2 separate regions of the Homo sapiens genome follow, and region 2 is linked to region 1. The links are contacts of gene promoters, found by promoter capture Hi-C in human tissues and cell types (Jung and others, 2019). All regions are on one chromosome and are shown on one strand. The core of a region is centred on a gene start or on the middle of the fragment in contact, and the rest is flanking DNA. Distances in the headings are between cores, read along the strand shown.

What was found. Contacts are between HindIII fragments. The study calls those that stand out against the background at their distance.
Region 2: a fragment that was not itself captured here is called in contact with the fragment with the promoter of AKAP3 in region 1 in 2 of the 25 tissues and cell types used here (H1 embryonic stem cells and mesendoderm cells).

Annotation. Positions count from the first base shown.
Region 1 is chr12:4,647,801-4,653,528 of GRCh38, forward strand. It overlaps AKAP3 (A-kinase anchoring protein 3), which reads right to left and starts at 1,251. Exons shown (of 6, transcript NM_001278309.2): 1 at 945-1,251. It overlaps NDUFA9 (NADH:ubiquinone oxidoreductase subunit A9), which reads left to right and starts at 1,314. Exons shown (of 11, transcript NM_005002.5): 1 at 1,314-1,375. The coding sequence starts at 1,327. RefSeq lists enhancers at 676-725, 1,006-1,215, 1,084-1,739. The HindIII fragment of the contact is 5,598 bases long and covers 1,139-5,728 here.
Region 2 is chr12:4,365,868-4,372,112 of GRCh38, forward strand. It overlaps FGF23 (fibroblast growth factor 23), which reads right to left. Exons shown (of 3, transcript NM_020638.3): 3 at 2,360-4,916. The coding sequence ends at 4,476. Among named protein-coding and RNA genes, the nearest start is that of FGF23, 11 kb to the right of the region's middle. The HindIII fragment of the contact is 4,544 bases long and covers 1,654-6,197 here.

The DNA of each region.
Region 1 (5,728 bases), core at 1-2,500:
AAGGTTTTTTTCTCTCTTCCAATTCAATTTGTTAGGCGACACTTCAGTAAACAGTAGGGGCAAGATAGAGTGGAAACAGCCAAGATTTCAAGCCTAGTAATAAGCAACTTCTACATCCCTACTCATCACAGGCCTTTTTGTCTATCCCAGAAACACATACTTTTCCTGAAAAAACAAAGCACTGGAAGGATTACCAAGTCTAGAAAGAACCCGCCCTCCCCAAACTAGGTGGTTTTCTGATAAGCCTAAGGTATGTTTCACAGGATCACTGGTTGCCATCTCCTACCCAGCAATCTGGAGAGGTTGACCAGAATAAAGTATTTTAAAATCCAAGCGCTTAGTCTAACCTGGAATTTCCTCAGTTTCTAGATGGCTCTTTGTAGAACAATGCAGATTCTCAAAGGTGACCACAGTTAAAGAAAAAATTACAAGCCATTGCGCTAGAGAGAGCCATCTGCAGTTTCTCCTTAGACAGATGTTCAGATGGCACACATGGCCACTAAATTTGCATAATATTTCAGGAAGTTCACAGATTTCCCGAAGCCCACTCATGAATCACACTTCTGGTTAAGAACTCCTAGATTCATATGCTAGTTGGTGATAAGTGCTTTGGTATATAAACTTAAACCAAAAATTGGTGGAATAATTACCACCTTGGATAGGATGGTCAGAGAAGTTTTATCCGAAGAGGTCACTTTTGAGCAGAGACTTGAGCTGGTGCAGACACCTGAGTGTGCATTCCAGGAAACGCGAACAGCAGGCGCAAGGGTCCCTATGAGAGAATGTGCTTGGCGGGCTCGACGCACATTTATTTACTTGGGACACACCCTATTTTGGTTTCTCTTCTCCACTTTTCCCCTCGTTCTTGTCCCCCCTTTTCTCTCTCCTGGGCCCTGGATCTCCTGAGCGCGGAGGGCTACGCCTCCTTCTTCCTCCGGACTCACCAGGGCTGCCAGCTTAGCTTACATTTTCAGGGAACAGGAAACTGAGAGTCAGGAAAGGTGAGCTCTTCTACCTCGGGTCTTGCCATTTTGCATGTCCTGAGTCAGTCACTGGTTAACTCTGAACTTCAGGTTCCTCGGCAATTAGAGATTATAAATAGCCTATACAGCCTATTCCAGATCTGAGATTCCAACAGCCAAAGTCTTTTCACTTCCTTTCTTCCCCCTCTCCTTCACTTTCCCAGCTTTCTTCTTAACCAACAATCTACCCGAAACCGTCGTTTCTTGGTTAGCGCTTGCGCAGACAGGCGAGAAAGGTAAGTTTTGACCCAGCTTAGCAGCCGTAGTCAGCCGGGAGTGCTGTCGTGGGGGATTGTGGGAAAAGATGGCGGCTGCCGCACAATCCCGGGTTGTCCGGGTCCTGTCAATGTCACGTAAGTGTTACCGGGAACGGCGGCCCCTGGTCGGGATTCCGAGACGGGGATTTAAGGTTTTGGAAGTGGCACCGTGCTGCAGCGGTCACGCCAACTTCCTAGGCACACTCTGGTTTCTCTAGGTTTGGAGCTGCCTCAGTCTGGTTTCTCCTTTCGCTTTCCGCTTCCCCGGCTCACATATTCAATTGTGCACCACCTTGGGAGGGGACAAAAGATCTTAAGCAGCTGTAAGCGAAGAGGAGAATGCGGGGGACACGTTAGGGATCGAGAGAATCAGAATTCTGATATGGTTGTAAGGGTTTAGGGTTATGAGAAATATTTGTATGGGGCGGGGGGAGAAATGTGTAAGGGAGGGAAAAAAGGCTAGTGGCGAGAGGTTTTCTTAGATTGATTTTATGACCTTGTGCAAACCCTTAATGGGTCTCAATTCATATGAGCACAATGGAAATGATAATATTACAATACCAGGGAGTCTCTGATAAGATTAAATGAGCTAATATTTGTAAAAGCATCCTTTTACCCAAAAGCGTCTCTACGGATGTAGAATGTGTTCGGCAAAGTGCGTTGGGGTCTGGGGGAGAGAGTGATGTTTGAGGAGAGAAGAATCAGGAGCTTGGTGGAAAGGAAAGTGAAGAATGAAGGCTATGTTAGAATTTGTTAGCATTATTTAGTTTCTCTTCTGTTCTGATTGGATCTGCTCCCACTCCTCAAACTGAAAACATACATTTGTCCTTCCACTCACTAAAAAGCAAGGAAATTAGAAATACGGTTACACTTCATCATTGTCCTTTCACCCTCTACTCTTCCACAAACATATTCCAATCAAACCCCCAAAGTTGTATTTTTCTTAGTGTATTTTAGTCGTTACAGAATATCATTTGCTTTCAAAATTGGCTCATGTCAGAATCACTCGTAAAGCTTTATAAAAATTAGAAATGAGGACTGAGTGTAGAGCTATTGAGTCAGAATTTGTGAGATTAGCTCCTTGCACCTTAAATTTTTAAAAGCACCACAGATAGGCTTGATGTTCAGCCTGAGGCAAGAATTAGGAGTGTTTAGAGGATCCTTTTTTTTTTGTTTTCCATCTTGGGTAGAACTCCTGCATACCACTGGGAAGGTGGTGGTGCACATCACTTATAGTGGATGGTTTTGTAGTCACAATGTCTTTGCAAAGACATTTGCTGGTTCTTGTTAAACTATTACAATTGTATGACGTAATGTAGATTGTGAATGGTAATCACTATTTATTGAGTACCTGCTATCTGCAATCTCCAGTTCTAGGTATTTTTATTAATTTTCCTCTTTTAACTTACTTTCCTCTGACTGACACCATAGCTTGTGTTCTTAACCACTCTGCGTTATTGTCTGGTAAAGTAAGTTTTTGAGTAAATTCTGTAGAGGCAAGTCTAGTATGTAACATAATCCACACACTATAGGACAGAACTGTGTAAGACAACTATATATAGTTAAGTGTGGCAAGACTATTAAGTATCACAGGAAATCATAAAAGGGAAAGATTAGTATCATTTGAGGTACTGAGGGATGATTGGAAGACCAGTGGAGAATTGTAGTGCTCCCACTGGTCTCTTTAGGGCTGTTATGATCTGGAAAGTCCTCTGGCAAAGACAAGTGGGTGAGAATGGAGTCATGAGGTATTCAAGAGGCAGTGAAATGACTACCTGAATATCTGGGATAGTGGAAAAGGAGGTTGAATGTGTTAGATGGGATCAGACAATGGAGACCTTTGAAAGCCAAGCAGAGTTTAGATCGGTAGTCTCCAAAGGGAGTTGTGCAAGAGGACCTAATAAGTTGTGGAAATATAAATTAGAACTCCTAAAAATTGCTTTCTATAGTAATAATAGCTAACACTTATGTAGTTTAAACTGTATGCCACACACTATTCTAAGTAATGTATGATTTATAATGTGTATATCATATTGGTACTACATAGAACGTGCATATAATTTTTTAAATAAATACTTAAAAAAATTAATGCAGTGTGCAAGCAAATATGTCTGGACTATTGGTTTGGGTATTGCAGTAGGAAACTAATGTAGGTTTTTAAGCAGAGAAATATAATGAATATATAATTAATAAAGAATATCATTCTTCTAATAGTACTCATAATAAATGGAAGAAAGTGGAGAGGCTGGAACCAAAGAGAGTAATAATTTATATTTATTGAGCACCTAGTATTTGCAAGGCACTGTGACAGATGCTTGCCCATATGTTATTCTCATTAACCCTTTAAACTGTGAGCTTCATGAAGCCAGGGTTTTGTATTTTACTGTGATAGTCACAGTTTCTAGAATAATTCTTGGCCCATAATTATTAAAAAAAAACAATAGCCATGTGAGGTTAGTGTGACATTACCTTCTGAGAAATTTCAAAGTAATAAAAGCAACTATTATTCATAGAATGCTTAATGTGCTCTAGGTAATGTGCTACGTGGTTTATGTATGTTTAATCCTCTTAACAGTCCTTTGAGGTATTAATTCCTCAACTCAAGTAATTCTTCCCAGTTCATTGACTCTGCCATCTTTTGCCTGTCTTATCCTATGTCCTCATTTCCTTACTCTTCACTCTTATCATTCCCTTTTATGCATCCTCAACTCCCCAGCCCAACTCCCATTGTCGTAAAAAACATTGACCCTGATTAAACAAAACTTTCCACGTAATTTGCTGCCTGCCACTGAGCAATGGAGAACGGGGCTAGGGAAAACTTCAGACTAACTGGCCTTATTTTAAATTCATGAATACAAATCTCAAGTAGATTTTCAGTGCTACATTTTTCTAGGAAATTTGGTTTCCTTGTCTCCATAATCATTACTTAACATAGCGAGTTTCCTAAAACCTCTAACATGTGCTTTTGTCTCATTCTCAGCTTTACAGAGAAATCAAAGGAATCAGATGAGAACAGTCATTTTCCCACCATAAACTCTAATAGTTGATATGTGATAATTCTTTGCCTTTTCTCTTGTTACAGTGGGTGAGCTCCTTCTGTTCCAATCTGTGGCCAGTTCCTTCACTTTGCATTCAATCTTATCCTCTCTCAACTATTCATTCCCTTTCCTGAATCAGTAATTTTCTACCTCTACCATGGAAATCATGTCATTTCCATCAGCACATAAATGTTAACTCATATTTAAAACAAACAAACAAACCTATTCCTGTCCTTGTTTTCTCTAGTTCCATTTCTCCTTTTTCAGAAGGATTGTGTATACTCCTCATCTACTTCCTTGCCTCACAGCCTCTCTTGTTTGCTCCAGTCTGGCTTTCAGTCCCACTAATCCAATAAAATTGCTCTTATTTATGCCACCTACAGCCACATCCTCCAGCTTCTGTGGTCCTCTGTCCTCTTCCTACTTCACTTTCAGCATTTGGTAAAGTTAACCATTCTCTCCTTGAAACAGTTTCTTATTTTGGGTTTTTAGATTCTGTTTCCTTCTGAGTTTTTCTCCTACCTCATGGGACTGCTTTTTAATCTCCTTTACTAGTGCTTTGGGCTAGTCACTAACCTTATCCATAAAGTGGTGATAAAGATAGCATTAAAAAAGATAATACCTATGCAGCACTTAGAATAATGCTGGACACCTGCCAAGAGCTCTGTAAAGGTAGCTGTTAATATGATGTTATTATTTTGTTATTATGATGTGTGGTCCATGATGTTTACTTTTAATTTCTGTCACTATCAGTGAGCTAGGCTATTTCTCCAATTCAATACTTTTGGATAGGGAAGAACAATGACCTTTGGGCAGAATGCCACCTGAAAGTCATCCCTAGAAACAAACACAGATTTTCTAAAGAAAGTCCTGTTTGTGTCTTTCACCTCTCCCAAGTGTACAAAGCACGAATGCTAAGCTCCGAAGTTTGTTGATTGGAGCAGAAGTGCGTTAGCACTTTAAACCTTTTTGTTTCTACTTACATGAAAGTTGAGCAGCTAACTCTAAAATTCTATTCTAAGGAGTTAGCAATAACTTGAAAACTGGAATGTATCCAAAAGAGATTCTCATTCCTGCCATATGAAGAATATTTGACAGGACAGGGAATGTTTAACCTGGAGAAGAAAATATTTAGTGGGGCTATAATTGCTACACTTAATTGTAGAAGAGGGATTAGACTTGTTCTTTGTCATTCTGGAGGAACACAGGGATAAAAACTTCTGGGAAGCAGTCACTGATTCCCCTTGTGGTAGAACTTTCTTTCTGTTAGAATGGCTCAAAGCAGAATGGGCAGCTACAGGAAGTAGTGAGTTTCCCAACTCCACAGGTGTTCAGGCAAAAGCCAGATGATTTCTTTGCACACATGCTGTAGAGAAGATGTAAGCATTGGTACATGAACTTTGAGGGTTCA
Region 2 (6,245 bases), core at 2,676-5,175, 280 kb before region 1:
GTTGGGTGTTTTTTAAATCCAATTTGACCACTCCTGTCTTTAGTTATAGTGTTTGGCCCATTTATATTTAATGTAATTATTAATATAATTTGGTTTAGTCTATCATTTTTCTGTTTGTCCCATTTGATTTTTATTCTCCTGCTCCTCCTTTCTTCCCTTCCTTGGAATAACTGAATTTTTTTAGTATCCTATGTTAATATCTCTATTGGCTTTTTACCTACACCTCTTTGAATTATTATTATTTTTAAATGTTTTGTTTTTAGAGACAGGGTCTGACTCTGTCACCAAGTTGAAGTGCAGTGGCACGATCATAGCTCACTGCAACCTCCGCTTCCCAGGCTCAAGTGATTCTCCAGCCTCAGCCTCCTGAGTAGCTATGACTACAGGTGCATATCACCACTCCTGACTTCTTATTGTGAGTATTTTAGTGGTCACTTTGGGGATTACAATATGCATCCTTAATTTATCACAGTCTAGAGTTAATATTGTAAGATTTTTACATACAGTGTTATCATCTTGTAACCATATTGTTTCATTTATCCCTCCCATCCTATGTGGGAGTTTTGCCTTATATATTACATCTATATATGTTACAAAACCTGCATACAGTGTTATAATTTTTGCCTTAAGCAGCCTGTTAGTGAAATCAGGGAAGAAGGTATACAATATATATAGTTTAAATGTATTCACACATTTAATGATGGTTTTCTTTCTGTAATTCTAAATGTCCATCTGGTGTTACTCCTTTTCAGCATGGCAATAATTTCTCTCCATTTTTATTCCATCTTAATTTTGAAGGACATTTTTGCTGTATGTGTAATTCTGGGTAGGTAGCTTTTTATTTTCTTTCAACCTTTTCAATACATCATTCCATTGTCTTCTAGTTTCCATGGTTATGAGAAGAAATCCACTACTATTATAGCTGTTCCTCTATATATAAAGTGTCATTTGTCTACAGTAGCTTTCAGATTTTCTGTTGATTTTTGATTTTTAACAGTTTGACTGCAATATACATAACTGTGATCTTTGCATTTGTCTTGCTTGGAGTTTTCTGAGCTTCTTGTATTAGTACACTTATTTTTAACCAATAATTGGGAAATTTTCAGCCACCATATCTTCAAATATTTTTTACTCCCCAGTTCTTTGTGCTCCTTTCCTTCTGGGACTCAACTTACTCATATGTTGGACAGCTTAATAAGGTCTCACAGATCATTGAGGTTCTACTCATTTTCAAAAAACTTATTTCTTCTCTGTTACTCAGATAAGATAATTTATATTAGCTCTATCTTTAGATCACCTTACTAGTTTCTAGTGACTGCATTTTCTCTTGATTGTGCACATGTTTTTTTCCTATTTCTTCTCATGTCCAGTTATTTTACTATTACTGATTGTGTAGGATACCATGTATTAAGTCTGAATCATGTCCTCTTCCTTTAAAAGGTGTTAAGTTCTCTTCTGGCGGTCAGTTACATTATTGGTAGATCCTTGTAGTTTGCCAGGATTGGTATAATTCTCACTTAGAGCAAGTCTGTTTCAGTTTTGAATTTAGTTTTAGGATATACCCCCTGCCTCTGGGGCTTAGTCTTATAAGAACAGCCTTTTGAGTTCTGAGGCACTCAGTAAGGTCTCTTCACCCAGGTGTGGTTGAATTTCTAACGTGTTTCAACATTGCATAGCATCTGGTATCACTCACTATCTATCTCCTGCTGCTGTAGCAGGTGACCTTTGTAGGACTCACCGTATCTTACCTCGTGCATGTGCTACCCAGTCTTTGGCGAAGGACCTGTAGTGAATGCTCATGCCCATATGTAAAGTCTCTCCTTTTCATAGTTCCTTCTGAAAGAAGGAACTCTGGGAACACCAGTCTCAGAATGTAGATTCATTATCTTGGTGTCCTGCTATCAAATCTCACGGGACGGTAACACTGTGTATGTGTTTAGTGCATAGCATTTGGTTTACTGAGATACTGACGTGGTTGTGATGGTGTGTATTTTCCAAATAAAAATTCCCTCTTTAAAGAAAACACGGCTGGGTGCGGTGGCTCATGCCTGTAATCCCAGCACTTTGGGAGTCTGAGGTGGGTGGATCACGAGGTCAGGAGTTCGAGACCAGCCTGGCCAAGATGGTGAAACCCTGTCTCTACTAAAATTACAAAAATTAGCCAGGCGCAGTGGCAGGTGCCTGTAATCCCAGCTACTTGGAAGGCTGAGGCAGGAGAATCGCTTGAACCTGGGAGGCAGAGGTTGCAGTGAGCCGAGATCGCGCCACTGCACTCCAGCCTGGGTGACAGAGCAAGACTCCATCTTAAAAAAAAAAAAAAGAAAGAAAGAAAGAAAGAAAACACTTTAGGGTTAGAATGACCAGAAATCCAATATTGATAAAACTTAAATAATTCTGTCTAGATCAATTAAAATCATTGAGTCTCCTTATGAATGGAAGAAATCTTTGAAAATTTTAAAATTCTAAAATCTTTTTTTCAATTTTGCCTTCTCTGGATTTCCCTAATGTTCCCCTCCCATAATCCTTTTTATTCTTATATTCCGACATGCTTTTAAGTAGTACTACAAAGAGGATAAGCTAACAGAAGCTGAGATAAATTTTATTTTTATTTTAAACAGAAGAAAGGAAAAAGGGGTTACATTTTTATAAATATCTATAAATATAGAAGGATAGGCAAACTTCCAAATAAATAAATAAATACTGCCACATGACGAGGGATATAAGAAATTGTAGGAGCTATTTTGGCTTTGCCATAAAGAAAACCCCTGATGGTAGTGTTGAGTTTGTGAGATTACAACTAGTTTTCCACCAAAATCCTTTTGGGATCTTTCACTGAGGAGCCTCCAATAGCTATTATGCAGGATAATATTTCCAACAGGAAATGAAAACAGAAATATTAAAATATTTGCCATGCATGGCTATATACTATTATACATAGTTTTACTGTTTCAGAATAGGAACCAGTCCTTCAAGTTCAGCTTAAAACCATCAGGTAAAAACAGTTGCCCAACATTTCTCTCATAACCAAAAAGAATAGATCAAAGTATAAGGTTAGTATGTGATGGCAGTGAGAAAAAAAAAAGTGACTGGGAAGAAGCTGTTGTTGAATCGACTTTGCTTGTTAATATACTGTCCTTTAGGTGGTCATTTAAAGAGAGGGAGGAAAATGGAGCCCCCTTACAGGAAGAACCGCAGTAATGGGGTAAGGCTTCATTTAATGCACCAAGAATTTCCAAGGGGATTGAGACCCAGATGTGTCAGCCTAGGAGAGTTTTAACTAATCGAAGAGCCACTGCTGCTGCAGAGCCCTAGAGACCACAGACAAGAGCCTGACCATGTGGTTGTCTTTTCATAACTTCTATAACATGTCCCCTGATTTCTTTCCCCCTGAGTCCTTGATGCCACTTCATTTAGAGAAAAGGACACGATTTTTCAGTCCACAGAAAACCTAACCCAGAGCAGTCCCAGTCTCTCAAAGCCCCCTTCCCAGTCACATTTTTGTAGTTTGTTCAGAATGGATTCCTACTCAACCTGGAAGTAGAGCCTTAATTAAATGCCTCTTAGGAGAGTTGGAATTTATTTCCATTTTGAAAAGCAAATTCTAGCAGGGCAGATTTTCGTGAGCCAGTGTAAAAGCTATTTATTCCTTAGACCAAATTTTCAAAAACCAGAGATGGGGCCAAAAGGTGAGGCTGTATCATGAACTGCTTGGGAACAGAGTGGGGCCATTCTGGGCCCTCTGGCTGTGGCTGCACAGAGGGAGACAGCGAGACAGAAGGTGCTCACCCTGTAGGGAGGCTGAGTTTTCTATTATGATTCCTGCCTCATTTCAGCAAGCATCAAGTCTAGCTGTCAAGTTTTCACCAGCCTACCACCAGTCTTTTGACAGCTCTTCCCCAGAGATGCTCAAGGAAGAACGAAGGCTTGAAAGTAGTGTTTTCATCAACTTGCCCCATTCAGCTGTTAATGTCAAGGTTTGCACACTCAAATGCCAGTGGGATCGGGGCATCTAACATAAATGCATAGGGCAGTGGAGAAGCTTCTGGGATCTCCGATTTCCTCTTCCCTACACCTTCAAAGTCTTGAGCTCAGGAACCCACTGCTTTTTTTTTTTTTTTTTTTTTTTTTTTTTTTTATGCTTAAAAGTGATAAAGAGGAGAGGCACAAGGAAGAGAAATATGTTGGGAGAGACCCCTTCTCTCTACCTTCATGAAGGGGAAATTTCTAGTTTACCTGTTGGGGTTTCCTATTGGGAAAGGTGTTCTATATGGAGTGAGGAAGGCGGTGAAACCCCATGACTTGGGCCTCAAAGGTTGGTTCTCACAGGACCTCCTGTGGAAGGGACCCCAGAGAAGCAGCAAATTCCATACATGCCCCTGTCACCTTTCCCATCCTCGGAACGTCAAGGGACCTGGTCCTTGGGAAGAGCTGCGTTTGCTGAGGGATGGGTTAAAGAGGGTGCCCTTCCAGCGACCCTAGATGAACTTGGCGAAGGGGCGGCAGCCTTCCGGGCCCGTTCCCCCAGCGTGCGTGTTCACTCGACCGCCCCTGACCACCCCTAATGGGTCACTGGCCATCGGGCTGTTGTCCTCGGCGCTCGGGAGCTCCTGTGAACAGGAGGCCGGGGCCGGGGTCATCCGGGCCCGGGGCTTCAGCACGTTCAGGGGGTCCCGCTCCGAGTCGTCCTCGGCGCTCCGGGTGTGCCGCCGTGGTATGGGGGTGTTGAAGTGAATTAGGGGGATCTCGTTCCTCCGGGACAGGAACTGGGAGTACGGGGGTGGGTTCATGCCTGGCAGGAAGGCTCTCTTCGCCCGGCCCAGACTGACCAGGAAGTGATACTGAGGAGAGTGGTAGACGTCGTACCCGTTTTCCAGCGTCTGGTGTTGGAACCTGCAGTTCTCCGGGTCGAAATAGTGCTGGAAGGACAAGAGCGAACCACGTGAAGGCTGGCAGTGGGGGCCCCACCCACTCCCCAGCTCCTCCTGGGGCCACATGCTTGTGCCAGCCGGCCTGAAGCTCTGCAGTTCTTAGGGCGTTGAGCCTTCACCCCTTTGTTCCCTGCTGGGGTAGAGTGGTTTTGATTAATGCTCAAGCCCTGACTATATAGTTCGCCCTTTCAGAGACTACGACTACTGGGGCCTCCGCTTACTGCCTGGAGGCCCGGGCTGGCCTGGCCTGTGGTTTTCCTGGAGTAGGCACCACCTTGTCCTTCCTGCCCTCTATCTTTTCCAAGCCTCTGCTGGCTGAAAATTGGCTTGGGTTTGTCTCTTTACTGGAGAAAGGAGAGGGGATGGAGTTTATAGGGTCAAACATGAATGAGAGCACTGACGGGATTGGAGACATGAACTTTGCTGACAGATGAGCTGGGTTTGAATCCTCTACCACTAGTACTGGGTTTTACTGAGTGCCCCACGAAGGCCTTTGCCTGTTATTTCTTTTAATCCTCAAGCTCCACAAAGTAAGCAGTTTACAGATCAGGACTATCTACATGCCTAGAGGGGTTAACGGATGTTTAGTTAGTTATCTATATTTCAATAGTGGTTCAACAGATTTTTTGTTTGTTTGTTTACCTACTCTAGCCAGACACTATTGTAGGGGCTGGGATGCAGCAGAAAGCAAAACAGAAAGTCTCTGTTCTTGTGGAGTTTCTAGTGGGCATGTGTGGTGGTCAGAGACTCCTGAGATAAGCAGTCCTACTATTTTACTATCTCAAAATCCTCCAAAAGAGGCCAGCAGCCTTTAGTTTGGGAAATCCTTTGCTTACCAATCCGAATGAATAGCTATCACAATTGGGGCAGGGGTTATTAATTAAAAATCTTTAACTGGAGGGAGCTCCACAGGTCACGTGGTCTATTCCACTTCGCTTTTTCCAAGTGAAAATGCTGAAGTTTGGAGAAGTGAGGAGATTTACCCAAAGTCACAGCTAGTCCCAGAATCAAGAAGACACCAATGGCTTTTCACCCTTTCTAATGTACTTTACAACGTGAATTGACATGACTTGAGGACCTACGACTACATACCAGGGCCTGTGCTAGATTCAAAAGTGGGTTCCACAACCCAAATGTCCAACAATGATAGACTGGATTAAGAAAATGTGGCACATATACACCATGGAATACTATGCAGCCATAAAAAATGATGAGTTCATGTCCTTTGTAGGGACATGGATGAAATTGGAAACCATCATTCTCAGTAAACTATCGCAAGAACAAAAAACCAAACACCGCATATTCTCACTCGTAGGT